Regions from separate parts of the Homo sapiens genome. Here region 1 is linked to region 2. The links are contacts of gene promoters, found by promoter capture Hi-C in human tissues and cell types (Jung and others, 2019). All regions are on one chromosome and are shown on one strand. The core of a region is centred on a gene start or on the middle of the fragment in contact, and the rest is flanking DNA. Distances in the headings are between cores, read along the strand shown. Region 1 overlaps TRAF2 (TNF receptor associated factor 2). Region 2 holds the start of LCNL1 (lipocalin like 1).

Region 1 (5,193 bases), core at 2,450-4,949, 55 kb before region 2:
CATTTATTTATTTACTTATTGTTAAGACGGAGTCTTGCTCTGTCGCCCAGGCTGGAGTGCAGTGGCATGATCTCGGCTCACTGCAACCTCCCCTCCTGGGTTCAAGCGATTCTCCTGCCTCAGCCTCCTGAGTAGCTGGGACTACAGGCATGCACCACCACGCCCAGCTAATTTTTGTATTTTTAGTAGAGATGGGGTTTCTCCATGTTGGCCAGGCTGGTCTTGATCTCCTGACCTTGTGATCCGCCCACCTTGGCCTCCCAAAGTGCTGGGATTGTAGGCGTGAGCCACTGTGCCTGGCCTATTTTGAAAATCAGAATCTATTATTTTGTGGAATTGAAGATGCAGAGACTAGACTGGAATGAGAGAAGGTCCCTTCCTTTTGCCACAGTTGGCCCAGACTTGCTACTTCCCCCACCCCCTATAGCTAGTGGAGTAGGCAGAGCAGAGTTGGGTGGGGGAGGGGGTGTGGAGGGCCCACAGGCCCTTGTCTGTCCTGGGGCATCCAGGTTCACAGTCCTGACAGAGGCAGACTCAGGTTCTCCCTGAAAAGTGCTCTTCACGAGTGGGCAGTGGGTGCTTCATGATCTCTTTGGCAAGAAAATGTCTTTGCCAGATGTGTTATTTTTTGCATTTTCCTAATAATAATTCAAGTTCAGGAGTGGTAAGCTTTAGTCTAGGACTCCAGATGTCAGTGGACAGGAAAGGCCAGAATGGACACAGATTCCCCAGAGAGAAGCGGAATGCCGGTGGCTGGGGAGGGCTGGGGAGCCCGGGCGCTGTGGCAGGAGCAAGGCCGCCCACCACGTGGTCTCGGCTGGGCCTCAGCCTCTGGCCTGGGTCCTGGGATGGCCTCCTGCTGGTGGCCCTGCCAGTGTCCAGACCCTCGGGAGCCAGAGAGAGACGGCCCACAGACCTGTGTCCCCTCCCTGGGGCTCTCTCCTCCAGGTGACCTTAATGCTGCTCGACCAGAATAACCGGGAGCACGTGATTGACGCCTTCAGGCCCGACGTGACTTCATCCTCTTTTCAGAGGCCAGTCAACGACATGAACATCGCAAGCGGCTGCCCCCTCTTCTGCCCCGTCTCCAAGATGGAGGCAAAGAATTCCTACGTGCGGGACGATGCCATCTTCATCAAGGCCATTGTGGACCTGACAGGGCTCTAACTGCCCCCTACTGGTGTCTGGGGGTTGGGGGCAGCCAGGCACAGCCGGCTCACGGAGGGGCCACCACGCTGGGCCAGGGTCTCACTGTACAAGTGGGCAGGGGCCGCGCTTGGGCGCTTGGGAGGGTGTCGGCCTGCAGCCAAGTTCACTGTCACGGGGGAAGGAGCCACCAGCCAGTCCTCAGATTTCAGAGACTGCGGAGGGGCTTGGCAGACGGTCTTAGCCAAGGGCTGTGGTGGCATTGGCCGAGGGTCTTCGGGTGCTTCCCAGCACAAGCTGCCCTTGCTGTCCTGTGCAGTGAAGGGAGAGGCCCTGGGTGGGGGACACTCAGAGTGGGAGCACATCCCAGCAGTGCCCATGTAGCAGGAGCACAGTGGATGGCCTTGTGTCCCTCGGGCATGACAGGCAGAAACGAGGGCTGCTCCAGGAGAAGGGCCTCCTGCTGGCCAGAGCAAGGAAGGCTGAGCAGCTTGGTTCTCCCCTCTGGCCCCTGGAGAGAAGGGAGCATTCCTAGACCCCTGGGTGCTTGTCTGCACAGAGCTCTGGTCTGTGCCACCTTGGCCAGGCTGGCTGTGGGAGAGGGTCTGGTCCCACGCCGCCTCTGCTCAGACCACTGTGTGGGAGGTGCACAGCACAGCCTGCGGGTAAAGTGTGAGAGCTTGCCATCCAGCTCACGAAGACAGAGTTATTAAACCATTCAAATCTCTGTGGTCAGTGGCATCCATTTGATTCCAGGTTGCCTGCGGCTTCCAGCCTTGGCAGTGGTGACCCTCTGCGGGTCCTCCTGGCCTCTCCTCTCACAGACCCCTCCCCACGGGGTGCCTAGCCCCTGCCTGCTTCTCTAGCTAGCCAGGCTGTGTTCTCTGTTCCTCACCTGATGTAAGCTCCCTCTTCTCGAGCCTTGTTCCCTCTTCTGGAATGTTCTTCCCTGTCCATCTCCTCTCCTGGGCCTCCCCAGGGACTCCTGTGAGAGCAGAATGAGGATGAGCCAGCCCTGGTCCTGCCTTTCTGTGCACAGGCTCCACCGAGCATCCTGGCTGCACCCGGGGGGTCCTGGCCACACCGAGGGTCCTGGCTGCACCGCCCCTGTGGTGTGTTTTTGGGACAGTGCAGGCAGGCGTAGGCACGGCTTCACACTCGGTGTCAGGGCAGCCGTGCTGGGACCTACTGGGCATCTGTATCGGGGTCCAGGATAAAGTGCTGTCCCCTCTCGACGTCTTCACGCACTGCTGTAGTTTGAGAAGTTGACCACAGAAAAGTACAGAAAATAACTCAGGCACGGAGCTGACCGACGGGCATTGTCTGTGTTCCGTGAGTGTGTACTGGGCCTAAAGAGCAAGCATTGCAGAGCCCTGCTGTTCCCTTTCCCGGCCTCACCTCAGCTCCCCAGGCCACGTGGCGGGAATTGAGGCGTTCCGGTTCTCTTTGGGCTTTAGAATTTTGCATCTGTACGTTTCTGTATTCACAAATAAGAATATTGCATTAAAAATGCAGAAACCATCCACTGGGTCAGCTGCAGGTAGCTGGGCTTTTGACTCAGCCTGGCTACTTTTAATGCATCTTGTGCTGGGCACTCTACATGGTGGATTCTGACTGCCGTGTGTGAGTTCCCTAGAGAGCACCTTCCAGTCTCTTCCCGTGTCTTCAGGGTTTGGTGACTGGAGATAGCCAGACCTGCTCTCGTGGGTCTCCTGTCAACCTGGAAGGAGGGTTGGTGGTTTCTAGGCCTCCCCTTTTTAGCAGTTGCCAGCTTGCTTTGCAGAGGGGCTGCATCCGGTCCTTCCACCAGCACCAGGGGGAGGGTTCCCATCACTCCCATCCCTCCCATCCCTGCCCGTGCTTCGTGTTGTTGGAATTGAGATGCTGCAGCGTGCTGTGTGTGAAGTGAAGTGGCATCGCTGTCACGTGCGTTTCTCTGATGACTCGGCGGAGTCAGGCGTCTTTACCACGCTTACCTCTCCCTTGGATTCTCTCCCGTGCGAATTGCCTGTTGATGTCTTTTTCTCATTTTTCTTCTGGTTGTTGGTCTGGGTCTTATTCTGCTGGTTGGTAGGAGTTCCTGATATTCCTGATTACGGATTCTCGGTTGTGTCTTTGAACTGCGTTTCTGTTGCTCCTGATGTGCAGAAGCTTAAGCCTTACACATGATCAGCTGATCTTATCCTTTATGAATGGTGCTATTTCCGACCGACTCAGAACATCCTGACCTTCCCTGAGGCTGGAAACCACTGTCATGTTTTCGTCTAATGATTGTGAAGTTTTGTCTTTAACATACTGGGCTTCTATATTTGGGGATTTGTTTGTATGTGACAGGTTTTGCTGGGTCACTGCAGTTTGTTAAAACAGATTGATTGAGGTCATCTCTTCTCACTTAAAACGAAATGGAACTGTGAAATGAGAGGAATGGACCAAAAAAAAATCCTCCCCCAGGGACAAAGATGGGGAAGAAGCCAACATCCCACAAAGGATTTGAACCCATTTTGGAAGGTGGGAAGTGGGTTGGTGGGTGGCTGCTGAGCAGAAGAGGGCTGAGGGGGAAGCTGGCCACACCGGGAGGCCCTGGCATGGAGCAGAGTCTAAAAGTGGATCAACTGAAAGACGGGGCAGAGCAGCTACCTTGGAGGTCCTTTGCCAGAGCAGCCGGATGGTCCTCCTGGCCCTCACCTCCCTGCAGTGGAGATGGAGGTCTGGAGAACCTGGGGAAGAGCTGAGGACCGCACCCCCCACGCAGTGAGAGCAGCATCGGGCTCCAGGCTGCAGAAGGGGCAGAGGTCTGCACTCGGAACAATTCCCTAGGCACTGGCTGCCACACCAAGAGGCTCCCACGAAGCAGACCAAGGCCCTTGAGGGACAAAATGCTCTGGAGCAGCCCCGTGGGCAGGCCTGGCCCAGCCGCCTCATGGCCTTCTGGGGAAGTGACAGGCTCTGTGCAAACCCACAGAGGTACCATCGTCACTACCTAATTTTGGGACATTTCATCACCCTGCAGAGAAACCTTCCCTTAGCAGTCACTGTTCCCTCCCGCTCAGCCCCTGACAGCCAGCCATAAACCTACCTTCTGTCTCTATAGATTTGCCTACTCAGGACATTCATGTGAATGTGGCCTTTGCTTTTACTCAGCAAGATATTTTCATGGTTCCTGTGTGTTGCAGCATGCATTGGAGTTTCATTCCTTCTAATGGCTGAATAATCTCTTGTATGGATGCACCACACCTTATTTATCCATTCATCCGTTGCTGGACATTTGGGTGGTTTCTACTTTTTGGCTACTCTGAAAATGCTGCTGTGAACATTTGTGAACAAGTTTTTATGGGGACGTGTATTTGTTTTCATTTCTCTTGAATATTTATACCGAGGAGTAGAGCTGCTGGGCCGCTTGTTCAGCTCTTGGAGGAATTGCCGAACTTTTGTGTCACCTTACATCTCCCTCAGGAAGTGTTTTTTTTTTTTTTTTTTTTTTTTGAGACGGAATCTCGTTCTGTCTTCCTGGCTGGAATACAATGGCACAATCTCGGCTCACTGCAGCCTCCGCCTCCCAGGTTCAAGCAATTCTCCTGCCTCAGCTTCCTGAGTAGCTGGGATTACAGCTGTGAGCCACCACGCCTGGCTAATTTTTGTATTTTTAGTAGAGACAGGGCTTTACCATGTTGGCCAGGCTGGTCTCGAACTGCTGACCTCAGGTGATCTGCCCACCTCAGCCTCCCAAAGTGCTGGGATTGCAGGTGTTGCACCTGGCCCCTAATAACATTTTTAAATTTCACGTAGTAAAATTGATTTGTTCTTTTGTTTTGTTCATGGAACATTCAATTCCATGGATGTTCACACCTGTGCAGATGTGGGTAAGCACCATACCTGGGAGACAGGCGAGCCCTGCCATCTCAGAAGACTGTTCCACTTTCCCCATAGTCACCACCCCGACCCGTGGCAGCCACACACCTGTCCTCCACCACTGTAGTTATGTCTTTCCAAGAAGGTCCCATAATGGAGTCCTACAATGCGTGGCTGGGAGCAGCGAGATCTGCAGAA
Region 2 (5,462 bases), core at 943-3,442:
CTGACGACAGCCCCTGGCTTCTTTCTTGGCAGATAAGTGCATGACGGAACAATAGGTGAGCCACTCCATTCATTCATTCATTCATTCATTCATTCATTCATTCAACACACATCCACCCAACCCACTCTGCGATGGGATGGATCAGGGCCCCAGGACAGCCTGGTGCTGCAGACCCATCCTTCCCGATGGCTGCAGTCCAGGGCCGGGCGGGAGACACTGGGGCTGCCCACATTGATGGGTGCACAGGTGTGAGGCTCAGAAGGAAAACCTGTCCCAGTGGCTGGAACAGGGCTGACTCCTGAAGGCTCATGGTTGGGGGGTGCAGGTGCGAGGCCCCAGGCAGACAAGGCCAAGGGGCTATACCACAGGGACCACCTGGCAGCAAGGGTGTCTGGCTCCTGGGCTAGGAGGAAACCAGGGTGGGGGAGACAGGATGGGAGGGAACAGGGGATGGAAGGGGAGGGCCAAGGACGCTACATGGATGCCGTGGGACAGCTCGGAGAGCAGGCTCAGGGCGGATTCACCCACCACCCCCAGGAGGGAGGCCTAGGCTGGAGCTGGAGTCTGTGGACCCTGGGGCTGGGAAGGGTGGAGTCTGTAGACCCTGGGGCAGCGGGGATCCAAGCCCCAGGGATGGATCTTGCTCTCTCAGCGGGGCTCAGTGGGGCTGGGGGCAGAGAAAAGTCCCCGTAGCCCGCACCTGCTCCATCGACTGGAGTGGAGGTGGGCTGGGGTAGACTGCAGTCCTCCATCCTAGCCTTTCGGTCACACCCCTCAGGACTCCCCAGGGCTGAAGCTGGGATCCCGGCCAGCCAGGTGACCCCCACGCTCTGGATGTCTCTGCTCTGTTCCTTCCCCGAGCCCCTGCCCCGGCTCCCCGCCAAAGCAACCCTGCCCACTCAGGCTTCATCCTGCACAATAAACTCCGGAAGCAAGTCAGTAGAGCTGGCTCCTGGCTGTCTGCGCTGTCATCACCCGTCCTGGGCCTGGCCCTGGCCACCCGGACCTCCCCCTCTAAAATCTCAGCCTGACGTCAACAAAGGAACAGGCCCTCTAGTGTTTGCTCCCAGTGGGGTCTTGAGTCAGGACAGCTAGGAGGGGGTGTCCCTCACTGTCTCCCACCCACCCCACACAGTCGTGTGCCCCTGCCCCACAGCCCCACACGTCGAGCCATACCCCCTCAGCTGCCACTGCCACCAGGCCGGTGCTGAGCTGGGGGTCAGTGACTCAGCTAATCCCTTAGGCAGGTGCCCTGCACCCCCAACGCCACCCTGTCACCCCCTCAGCAGTAAAGGCCTGAGGCTCGAGGCCCCAGAGGAGCTTTGGACCTGTTGGGTATCTTGAGGTGTGGGATTAACGCACTGAGATTGGGCAGAGATAAGGGTTTCAGGGGACAAAAAGAAACATTTGTTTGAAACATGCCAGAGTGTCTCCACCCCGCATCAGGACAGACTGACAGAGTGGGCTGGGGACAGGCTACCCCATATCCCTTCTGGCTCCCTGTGCGCCCCCTGCCCTCTGACCTGGGCCTCCAGATCACAGCCTTGTCCACTCACCAGAGCCCTGGCACCACGGCCACACCATGCCCGGCCAGTGCCCTGCCCAACCCTGCTCCCTTCCAGATTCCCACCCAGGCAGCCATTCTCAGGTACACAATGTGCAGGACTCACTGTGACCTGCCCACCAGGCCCCCCCGAGGCAGACCCTGCAGAGGCACCAAGCATTTTGAGGCTCGGAGGTGAGGGTGAGCTTCTGGGTGGCCTTCCCGGAGAAGGGGGCTTAGGGCTGTGCCTGAGCTCAAGGTAGGGGGGATTCCAACATCCCAGAGGGGCTGCAGAAGGCCGAAGAGGCAGGATGGGTGAGCTGCAGGCCCCCTAGCCCAGAGGCCCGTCAGAACTACCCTCAGCTGCCAGGCATCCGGCCCCACCCCGGAGGAAAGGCAACGGATGGCTGGGGTTGGGTGGAGGGAGCCAGGCCAGAGCGCTGCAGGGTGCAACTTGATCAGAAGCCTGTCACAGTGGGTGCAGTCCCAGGCCAGCCGCCCCAGGGCACCTCAGGGGCGTAAAGCCTACAGAGGAGCCACCTCAGCTCTGCCCTGCTCCCGTGTCCGGAGGAGATGCCATCTTGCTGCATGATGCTTCGGGCTCTGCTGATCAGTTCCCTCCTTGCCCTGCTCTGGGCATCCCCAGGCCAGGCCCAGGTCCCCATCCAGGCCAACTTTGATGCCAGCCAGGTGTGCCCAGCCCTGTTTCCTCCTCATCTCCAATGAGTCCTCCCGGCTTTGGTGCTGCACCCCGGGTCCCTGTCCACACCCTCTTTGATCCAGGCTCAGCAGGGCTAGGGGCAGGGGAAACCCCCACCTCACCCGCTCCGTCTGACTGGAGTAGGGGTTGGCTGGGGAAGACTGCAGCCTCCATCCTACCTTTTCAGTTGCATCCCCCAACAATCCCCAGGGCCCAAAATAGGGACAAGTTGGTTGCCTGTGCCTCACTGTCCCCCACCCACCCCACAAAGACCTGTGACCTTGCCACAGCCCCACCCATCCAGCCGTACCCCCTGGGTGCCAGCTGCAGACAGGCCGGTGCTGGGCTGGTGGGGGCCAGTTGCTCATGTACTGAGGCCCCCCTCCCTCAGTTCTGCATCGGGGTCGAGATGTGTACAGCAGCCCCTGCCGTGGCCAGGAAGCAGCTGTGTCGGGGCAGAATGTGGTGGGCTCAGGCCCAGGGCACAGGGGCGGCCTCCCAGCCTTCCCTGCACTTGCCCTGCAGTTCCAGGGCACCTGGTACATGGTCGGGGTGGTGTCAGATGACCAGGACTTCCTGGACTCCAAGGACACCATGAAGATGGCTGTGGTCTTAGTGACCCCCTTGGGGAATGGTGACCTGGCCCTCAAGTTTGGATACCCCACGTAAGTGACCACACGAGCCCATCAGACTCAGCCTCAGAGGATGGCCAGCATGAGGCCACATGAAGGTCCAGAGGGACCATGGTGTCCCCAGCACATTGAGGTCAGACCACGGGTCCTCGACGGCTCTGTGCGGCAGAGCCCCAGATGGCAGCCACACGGAGTCCAGAGGGACCCAGGCCCTGGAGGAAGCACTGCCTGAGGCCTGGTGTTGAGAAAAGTGTCTGCATGTCTGTGTCTGTGTGTGTATCACTGTATGTGGCTGTGTCTCTGTGTATGTGTGTCTATTTCTGCATGTGTGTGTGTCTGTGTGTGCGTGTGTATGCATGTGTGTCTTTGTAGATGTGTACCTCTGAGTGTGTATGTGTGTATCACTGTATGCGTCTGTGTGTCTGTGTGTCTGTGTATCTGTGTCTGGCTGTGTGTGTCTATCTCTGTGTGTGTCTTGTGTGCGTGTCTATGTGTGTGTCTGTCAGTGTGTCTGTGTCTGTGTCTATCTCCGTGTGTGTGCATGTGTGTATGTGTGTGTCTTCTGTGTGTCTGTGTCTGGAAGGGGGACCTGGAGGCCCTGCATTCTAGGCTGTGTGCCTGTGAACAGGTACTTAATACCCACCCCACCCCCAGCAGGAGTGTCCCCACCTCTAAGGTCATCCTAAAGTCCCATGTCCTCTAAGGATTGTGAGGGTGAACAGGGGACCCTGGGCTCAGAGACAGCAAGGTAGGCTCTAGGCCTGGGCGCTGGGCAGGGGTGGCCACTCAGGGGATTGGGGCTCTTTCTCCCCAGGCCCCATGGCGGGTGCCAGAAAATGGACACGACCTTCACCGAGGGTGCTGTACCGGGGCAGTTCAGCAACCCAGGTGAGGTGGGGCAGCAGGCAGGGCTGTGGCGTGGGGGCCCTGGAGGCTGCATGGACTGCTGGATTGGCACCTGGGGCCGGGGCGTGAGGGGTGCCACGCTCGGGGGGGAGGTGCCCTGGGCCTGGGGTCAGCGGCTCTCGCTCCTCCAGCCATGGCCCTGAGTGACATCCGAGTGGCCTTCTCCGACTACCAGCACTTTGCCTTGCTGTACTTGGAGATGCGGAAAGGGGGCCTGCGGAACCAGTGGCTGCAGCTCTACGGTGGGCGGGCTGCGGGGCGGAGACCCAGACACCCCCGCTTCGGGTCTGGGATGTCACCCCTGTGCCTGCACCAGCCCTTTCTGCACGCGGAAGGTGGAACCGCTGGCTCCTGGTGTCTGTGGCCGCGGGTCCCGGCCCCTCCCTGCCCCTCTCTCCCTCTCTTCGCCCCTCCAGCCCCTTCCCTTTAGCTTACCCGCCCTCCCCACCTTCAGCTCGAGCGCCCGAGCTGTTTCCCGAAGGCGCCCAGAAGATGCAGCTACTGGCGCCCCAAGTGGGCCTGAGCCCCAGCCAGGGCGTCCTGCTGCCGAAGTCGGGTGAGCGGTGCCGGCAGCCCTGCTGGGAGGGCCAGGCCCCGGGTCACACCCCTGCTGGAAGGGCCAGGCCCTGGTCACTCCACTGATCTCAGATTCGGGACAGAAGTGCCCGGGGCAGACCCAGCCTGTCTGGGTCGGGGGAGGGCGAGACGTTGCCCAGGCCGGTGTTCCCAGGAGGAGATCGCCTTGGGGCAGGTCGGGGGCCTCCGTCCCAGGGAAGGGGGCGCGGGGTGGCGCCTCAGGCTCGATCTCTCTGCAGACCAGTGTGCGGGCGCGCTCTCCCGGGTGAGTAGACCATGGCCATGCGGAGCCGCGGACCATGGGCCCTCCCAGCTCGGTGGGCTGCACCGCGGGGCCCTCTACCTTCGGGGCAGCTAGGGACGACAGCGGGGGTGATGGGGCACCCGGGCGGATCCGAGCCGCAGCAGCCTGGGGAACCGCGGGGCTGCGCGTCGGGAGGGGGCGGAGGCAGGGGACGCCGCCCACCTGCTCCTTGTTTTGCAGTGAGGGGTCCAGCCCCTGAGTGCCCGCAGGGGTCAGCTGCTCCGTGCGCCCAGCCCTGCCCAAAGAGCCCCCTCCCTCCACACCCTGGCCCCAAGCGCAATAAACACCCTGAATGCCTGTGGCGCTGTGCGTTTCTTGGGGGCAGGGAGGGGTGGCGGGGGGGCGGCCAGGTACATGGGCGCCCTGGGGGAGGGGCCGGGTCACCCCCTGTTGCCCCTCTGGGTAGGCGTTAGCCCAGGAGGGACCGAGCCTCGGCTCCGTGGCAGGGAGGTTCCTCAGGACGGGCCCCAGCCCCAGCTCTGGGACTTTTCTACCTCCGCACGGACCCAGACCCCCAGACTGGGGGCGCCGGGAGGGCGGGACACGGACACCACGCGGCGCGCGCCCCAGGCTTCAGCGGACACCGCCGCGCGACGTGGCCTTCCGGGTCCTCCCAAGCGGCTGCCCCAGTCAGTGTCGGCGGCTTCCATCCCCAGGCGCCCCTCCGGGTCCCCCAGCTCCCCAGCCCCTGACTCCTGGCTCCAGGACCCGCCCCAGAGGCCTGGCTGTTCCGGAGACCAACGAAGCGCTCCCAACTCTGACCCAGGGCCTGTCCACGGAGAGTGGAGGGCGAGGAGGACA

The links. The method cuts DNA at HindIII sites, captures the fragments that hold promoters and counts their contacts. A contact is called where the count stands out against the background at its distance.
Region 1: a contact is called between a fragment that was not itself captured here and the fragment with the promoter of LCNL1 in region 2, in 4 of the 25 tissues and cell types used here (dorsolateral prefrontal cortex, lymphoblastoid cells, mesenchymal stem cells and 1 more).

The regions. Positions count from the first base shown.
Region 1 is chr9:136,924,735-136,929,927 of GRCh38, forward strand. It overlaps TRAF2 (TNF receptor associated factor 2), which reads left to right. Exons shown (of 11, transcript NM_021138.4): 11 at 949-1,873. The coding sequence ends at 1,167. Among named protein-coding and RNA genes, the nearest start is that of FBXW5, 17 kb to the right of the region's middle. The HindIII fragment of the contact is 3,433 bases long and covers 1,984-5,193 here.
Region 2 is chr9:136,980,801-136,986,262 of GRCh38, forward strand. It overlaps LCNL1 (lipocalin like 1), which reads left to right and starts at 2,193. Exons shown (of 3, transcript NM_207510.4): 1 at 2,193-2,908; 2 at 3,690-3,763; 3 at 3,913-4,958. The coding sequence starts at 2,787. The coding sequence ends at 4,211. PTGDS (prostaglandin D2 synthase) reads left to right here. Exons shown (of 7, transcript NM_000954.6): 6 at 33-55; 7 at 779-942. The coding sequence ends at 55. RefSeq lists enhancers at 3,531-4,088, 4,089-4,644. The HindIII fragment of the contact is 9,863 bases long and covers 199-5,462 here.